Regions from separate parts of the Homo sapiens genome. Here region 2 is linked to region 1. The links are contacts of gene promoters, found by promoter capture Hi-C in blood cells and fetal thymus (Javierre and others, 2016). All regions are on one chromosome and are shown on one strand. Each heading gives the region's core, a stretch centred on a gene start or on the middle of the fragment in contact. The rest is flanking DNA. Distances are from core to core; before and after follow the strand shown.

Evidence for each region. Contacts are between HindIII fragments. The CHiCAGO score rates a contact against its expected background, and 5 or more counts as called.
Region 2: a contact is called between a fragment that was not itself captured here and the fragment with the promoter of NEURL1B in region 1, in 1 of 17 cell types (endothelial precursors). The highest score is 5.2, in endothelial precursors.

What each region holds. Positions count from the first base shown.
Region 1 is chr5:172,639,586-172,643,027 of GRCh38, forward strand. NEURL1B (neuralized E3 ubiquitin protein ligase 1B) reads left to right here and starts at 1,678. Exons shown (of 5, transcript NM_001142651.3): 1 at 1,678-1,852. The coding sequence starts at 1,822. RefSeq lists a silencer at 1,440-1,729. The HindIII fragment of the contact is 2,251 bases long and covers 386-2,636 here.
Region 2 is chr5:172,525,967-172,529,408 of GRCh38, forward strand. All of the region lies in intron 1 of LOC105377727 (a long non-coding RNA gene), which reads left to right. Among named protein-coding and RNA genes, the nearest start is that of LINC01944, 31 kb to the right of the region's middle. The HindIII fragment of the contact is 2,092 bases long and covers 782-2,873 here.

The DNA.
Region 1 (3,442 bases), core at 428-2,927:
AGCCTGGCCAACATGATGAAATCCCATCTCTACTAAAAATACAAAAATTAGCGGGGCGTGGTAGTGGGTGCCTGTAATCCCAGCTACTCAAGAGGCTGAGGCAGGAGAATTGCTTGAACTTGGTAGGCAGAGGTTGCAGTGAGCCAAGATTGTGCCATTCCACTCCAGCCTGGGTGACAGAGTGAGACTCTGTCTCAAAAAAAAAAAGAAAAAAAAAAAGGATCACGCTAACGGACCTTTCTCAAACAGAACTTTGGGGTTAAAAATTAAGTCACTGGGCGAGCACCTGTAATATGAGAAATTAGTAACTCAAATGCAAGGCAATCTTATGTTCAGACATATGACGTCAGGGGGGAGTGGGGAATCAAGGTTTCCCGGAAGTGGAAGCTTGGAGCTGGCCTTAAAGACCCTAGAACCCTCTGGGATGGGTCATGTACTGTAAGCAGAAGGCACCGGAGATGCAGAAGGCTGTCTCCTGAATACCCCGCTTTTATTCGCATAGCTTCAGGCTAGCTTTGCCCTGTACCATTGGAAGATCTTGGGCACCTCTCTTCCACTCTCAGAGCCTCAATTTCCCTATCTGTGAAATGGAAGTAATAATACATATTTCATAAAGTCTCAAGGGATACAAGAGCATGAAAAATAGAATTGAAAAAAACAGCTCATTTGGAATCGGGTCTTCTTGGGGAAGTCATTGCACTTCCTGGGCCTCAGCGTTCCAGCCTGTGAAATGGAGCTCGAGAAGGGCACAGCTGCACTTCCCACTGAGTGTGGTCCAGGTGCCTGAATGAGGAATGCCTGTTACTGCCTCTGCCAGGAACACTCTACCTATCTCTTCTCATGGCCGACGCCTTCTAGTCCATCAGATGGAGCTTATGTGCCCCCACCCCAGATTCTCCCTATGCCCCCAAACAATGTCATCTCCTCACTCTACTGGGATCTGTTTTATTTTCTTCCTGGCTTTGATTATTATATAATGTGATCGTAATTGCTTGTTATTTCTATCTTCAGCATGCCATCTCCAGGGCAGTGGGGACCTTGTCTGTATCTACCCGGCCCAGCACAGTGCCTGGTGCATAGACTGTGCTCAATAAATATTTTAGTGAATGAGCGAATAAATTAATGAATGTGGGTTCCCTCTTCCCAATCTTTGGACACTGGGTTTCTTCTATTCCTCGGTACCTGGCCTAGGGGATAGAAAAGACTCCACCCAAACCCGGGAACCCTGGGTGTACTGTCTCCAAGCCCTTTACATGGTCCCAGGGGCCCGTCTGCCTCTGTGTAAGTTCCCCCGGGGCCGAAGCACTCTCCAAAGAGGTCTGCCGGGGCTAGGACTCGGCCGGCTGGGGCCCCGCGCCTGGAAGAGGGCCTGGCACACAGTGGGCCTTCTCAAAGTGTTAGAACAAATGGGTGACAGGCCAGCAGACTGCCGATCCTGGCACCCGAGGGCACCCAGCTGCCCTGCGCGCCTTCCCGGCCCGGGCGCGGGAGCGGCGAGGGCGGGAGGCTTGGCTGTGCTTCTCCCGCCGCCTGGTGCAAACTTTCAAAAGATGCGGCGGCCGCGGCCCCGCCCCTGCACTGTTGGAGGCGGTGGGAGGCGGGGGCGGAGCCGGCGGGCCCGGGCCGGTGGCTCCGCCTCCTCCTCCCGCAGGCGCCGCCGCCGCCTCCCTCCCGGCTCCCGCCCCAGCTGCCGCCCGCCGGCTCGCCCGTGCAGCTGCGATGCCCCGGAGCGTCGACCCCGGTCCTGGTCCCTGGCCCGCCGCGTAATTAGCCTCCGCGCGCCCAGAGCGCGCCGCCGCCAACGCCGCGCCCGACGCAGCGATGGGCAACACGGTGCACCGGACCCTGCCAGGTACGCCGGGGAGCCCTGCCCGGGAGGCGGGCGCCGGGCTTCTCTCCTCCGGGGGACCCGCTGGGTGACTCTGGAGAGCTACCCCACGGCCCTTGGAGCCCTCGGCTCGCAGCGGGCTGGAGTCTCCGGTACCTCCCGGACCTCAGCTCGGCGCGCGCCCCGCGGCTGGGCTTTGCGCCCCGGGAGGGCGGGTACCGCGTCCTGGTTACCTTGGGGACCCCAGTCCTCATTCTCCCGGCTTTGGCCAGATGCGCAAAAAGGGCCGCTGGGGCGATGCCGCGCGCCCCCTCGCCTTTGTTCCAGCCCGAGGGCGCTGATGAGCAAACTCAAGGCGACCTGGGTGGGGGTGACTGGAGCCGGGCTCGCCAGGGCTTCCGACGGTCAGAAGCCACCCGTGGTGCCAAGACTGCAGCTGCCGAGAGTGAGGGGTGCTCTCAGGGGCACCCCAGTTTCCAGCCTCCCAGCGCCCCCGCGGCACATGCTGCCGTGCTTTGGCCACGTTCCCACGCGCACCCCGGTTGCGCCCCCCTCTGGTGTCCGCTCCACTGGGGACTCCTTCGCCCCCTCGGAGTCGCTGCTGCAGATCGCATCGCCCCCTAGTTAAAATCGCCCCAGAATTTCTGGGACCGGAGTGAGGGGATCCGGAGCAGGTTAACGGGGTAGGAGGAGGCCTTACTGGAAAATACATGGTAATTGTGGGAACAGATCAGCGGTCCCGCGCCCGCGCGTGCCCGTGGAGGTTCAGTGCCCAGCACTTTGCATACCCCAGCTCGGTATGCAAAGAAGCTTCGCGATAAAGATGTGTATCCCAGTTTTACAAATAAAAAAATTGAGTGTCAGAAGAGGTGAAATGACTCACCCAAGGTCACACAGCTAGTAGTGGGAGAATCTGGAGTGGGACCTGTGTCTCTCTGCCCTCCCTCCCCTCACACGCCCAAGTATTTAGAAGTATTTTGTCTTAAGGCTGGGCCTTTGTAGCATCCTTTGGGCAAAAGGTGAGAGGAGTGTGTGTGTGTCTAAAGCACAAAGGCTCGGCTCAATGGGGAAGCAAGTCAGCTGTGAGGTTAATTTAGTGTGAGGTTCTGGAAGAGGGACATATCACCCCATCTCTGCTATAACACTCCCATATAGCTCTCCCTTCTAGGCATTACATGCTCTTAAAGAATAATTTCCCCTGGAGCGGGTTGAAGTGGACAGTGCTGAGCCCAGGATTCCCAGGGTCAGCTTATGGAAGAGGAGCCAACTCCTACTTTACAAGCCTCTGAGCAACTGCACTCAAACGTTCAAATTCCCAGAGAGCTGTAATCATCAGCAGAGTCACCAGCTAGTCAGTGGCAGAGGTGGGATTAGAACCCAGGTCTGCTTACTGGAGGGTGGCCTCTACCTCCTGTGGACAGGGCTATTGCCAGGTTGGGGGAGAACCCACCCGCGGGTCAGGAGATATCTGGGGATGTTGGCAAATAGGGCAGCAGATATTCTCGCCACATAGACACTGGGATGAGGCACCTCGGCACAGGCCCCTTTCCTTGGTTTCTTAATTTAAAAATGTTTATACTATTCTAGTAAAAAGCCATTCTGCCACCTGTGGGT
Region 2 (3,442 bases), core at 578-3,077, 110 kb before region 1:
TAGCAGGGAAGAGCCAGGAATGCTCAAAGCTAAGTGTCTGTGTTTCTCTTTGGCTGTTGAAATCCTGGGATTTGAGGTATCCCTTCTGGAGCCTGATTTTATTTTCTCTCCCTGAGCCCCGCTCCCTTTGTGGACTCCTCAGCCAGGCCAGGGCAGATAAGAGGAATTTGGTGAACAGACTGGGGGCTCCACTTTGGGGCTGCTGCTTCCCGGTCCTGTGGTCCTCTCTGCGTGGCTGAGAACTCTCCTGTCTTCCTCGGTGGCTGCTCTGCTCCCTGGTAGTGAAGGAATCAGGGGTGTGTTCCCGCTGGGGCCACCTCTGTCTATGGCTTTAACCATCTCTATCTATGGGGCCATCTCAATCTATGTATGGCCTTAACCATGACCATCTCTATCTATGGGGCCATTTCTATCGATGGCCTTAACCATCTCTATCTGTGGGGCCATCTCTATCTATGGGGCCATCTCTATCCATGGCCTTAACCATCTCTATCTATGGGGCCATCTCTATCCATGGCCTTAACCATCTCTATCTGTGGGGCCATCTCGATCTATGGCCTTAACCATCTCTATCTGTGGGGCCATCTCTATCCATGGCCTTAAACATCTCTATCTATGGGGCCATCTCTATCTATGGCCTTAACCATCTCTACCTATGGGGCCCCATCTCGATCTATGGCCTTAACCTGAAGCCTCCCCTGTTCCTTGTGCTCAGCAGGGCTGCTCCCTTTTCCTGGTGAAGTCTTACATAATACTAGCTCATACGGACACAGTGGTTTCAAGCTTACAGTGTGTGGGGTTTCTTTTGTTCCTGGTTTCCATGATTCCTCCCAAGAGCCACACGAAGTGGTTATGATTCTTGCCCTTATTTTTCTCAATACAGTAACTGAGGCTCAGAGAGAGGAAATGCTTGGCCTAGTCCCACTGCAGGTGAGCAGTAGGGCAGGTGGGATTTGAACTTACACCTTCTGTTTTAAAACGTACCCAGGATTTGTCTAAATTAGGTATGGTAAGACCCACGACTGTCACGAAGGACGAAGTGTTTATACTTACACAACTTCCAGCAGGGCACCGGAGTACCTATCTCTCCGCCCCTTCCTCCACACGGGATATTATAAATTGTCTTAATTTGCAAAAGCAATTGTTTAAAGCATTCTAGGTCCCTAGAAACAGGAGGCATCGCACGCCGTGCAAGGCCACATGGGGAAGCGCCAAGGTTCAGCAGGAGGTAGAAGGAGTGAGGGAAGGGGTTGTCCAAAAGTATTGATTGTGGTTTCCATGGGAAAAAATGGGTGAGACAGGTTAAGCAGGTTTAGGACTGGCCGGTTTGAATAATTTCAGTGGGCTCCCAGGTGTAGGGACTGCCTCTCATAGTCTGATACTCGGCCCTGGATTGATTAGGGCAGGAGGATATGGGAAGAAGGGGCTTGATATGGGAAGAGTTTGATGGGTAGTTGGAAAAAAGATAAAGTCCAGTTGGGCTAAATTGATTGACATGCATATGGAAGGGACGCTTGTAAGGAAGGCACACTTGTTTGCTATTTCTAAAAACTGGCTAGCCCTGGGAAGGGCAGTCTCTCCTCCCTCAGTGGGGCCACAGATGCCAGAGCATCAAGCATACAGAAAATAAGAAAATACACACCTCCCAACTCTGTGGTGCTGGGCTGAACCTGTCTCAGGTCAGCCTGTGCACTTTTCTGCTCCCCACACCCATTCTGTGTGTCTGGGATAGCTTTCCTAGAGAGAAACCTTCTCTCCAAATGACCTCCACATATTGAGAGTCTCCTGGGGTGTAACGCATCAGTGTGCTATTTTGCTTCATCCTGGTAATGACTCTGGAAGGAAGCAGTCATTATTCCTGTTTTTCCGGTGAGTTCTGAAGAGGGGAAGTGGTTGGATCCAGGGCACGCAACTGAGCTGGACCAGGTGTCCTCACTCCAGGGCTTCTGCTCAAAGAGAAGGAGCTTGCAACGAATGCTTGTTTCATATGGAATAGGAAAGAGGGGAAGGTATTTAAGAAAGTTACCCTGCACATTTATCACACCTGCTGGTAGAGGAGCTGGTTTTAGCTGATGGAACTTCTTGCTGTTTGGCTTTGAGGTTCTCACAAAAGTTTGTAGAGAGGCTGCTTGGTTTGTCCCTGGTCTTGTCCACTCCTCCAGCCCTGTCCCCCCTCAAGCCCATGCCTGATATCTTCCCTTTCTCCTAAATTTATCTGTCCAGTGTTCTGCCATTTCAGGAGCTTGTGTCAGTAGGAGCCAACTGATGTGAGGTTGTTTGCAAGGAACAGAAACCAAACTCAAATGGGATTACGCCAAAAGATATTATTGGCTCCTCATAGCCAGTCTGAGGAAAGGCTGGGAATGGAGCTGGTCTTAGGGCCTCATGTGCCACTCGCTACTCCCAGCTTTGCCCTTTTCTCTGGCTTTGGCTCTAGCTCTGGGCTCTGTGGCTTCATACCCTTCCAGGTCCATGGCCCAAGGGACAAGAAGAGTTTCTCCTGCAAATCTTGTCAGAAAAAAAATCCCAGAGAAGATCTCTGATTGGCCCGCTTTGGGTCACATGTCCTTCTCTGGACCAGTCAGTGGCCAGGGGAATGGAATGCTAAGATTGGTCCAGACTGAATCACGTGCTGCCTTTATGGGAAACGGGGCTAAGATTTGTTACCAGGAGAAGAAGTTCCTGGGGGAATATTTTGGACAATTGAAGAAAATATGCTTTTGACTGTCTTGTCAAGTAACATGTTCACACTTTCACAAGGGACTTCTGAGGATAGAATGCCCTAATGCAAGGAGATGGAATGGTGGGAATTTCAGGCACTATGACAGGAATTTAATGGAAATATTTTTGGCTTAGGAGAAACTTGGCTTCTAAGCTTGAAAATGACTCCATCTTTTTTTTTTTTTTTTTTTTTTTTTTTGCCAGCAGTGCCCCACCAGCAAATTCCCAGAGTGAAAACTAGTATGTATATACTGTATTTTAGAATGGTGTGGGAGTTTATGTTTCTGAAATTAGAATGCATCTTATAATTGAAGTGCATATTTAATGTGTTACCAGGCAATAGACTGTATTAGTTAAAAATGAGAGATCTTTCATTGGATGAATTTAGTTCAAATCTTGGTTCTACCAGTTCCAAGCTGTAGAAAAGTTAAATCAAATGACTTAACTTTGCAGCAACCTCCATTTTGTGTATGCAACATGGTGCTGGTAATAATATCTACCTCACCTAGTTATTGTGAGGAATAAATTAAAAAACAGATATGATTGAGCATAGTGCCAGACACACAGAAAAGCCTCAGCAAATATTAGCTATTATTTTATTTATCTAATATTTGTAAACCTACAAGCTAAAATCAAATTAATGGTTTAGAGTAAGGGTTCTTGATTGGAAGCTGCAGAAATTGACTTTTAAAGAGAAAGGGGACTTTTAGAAGGCATATCA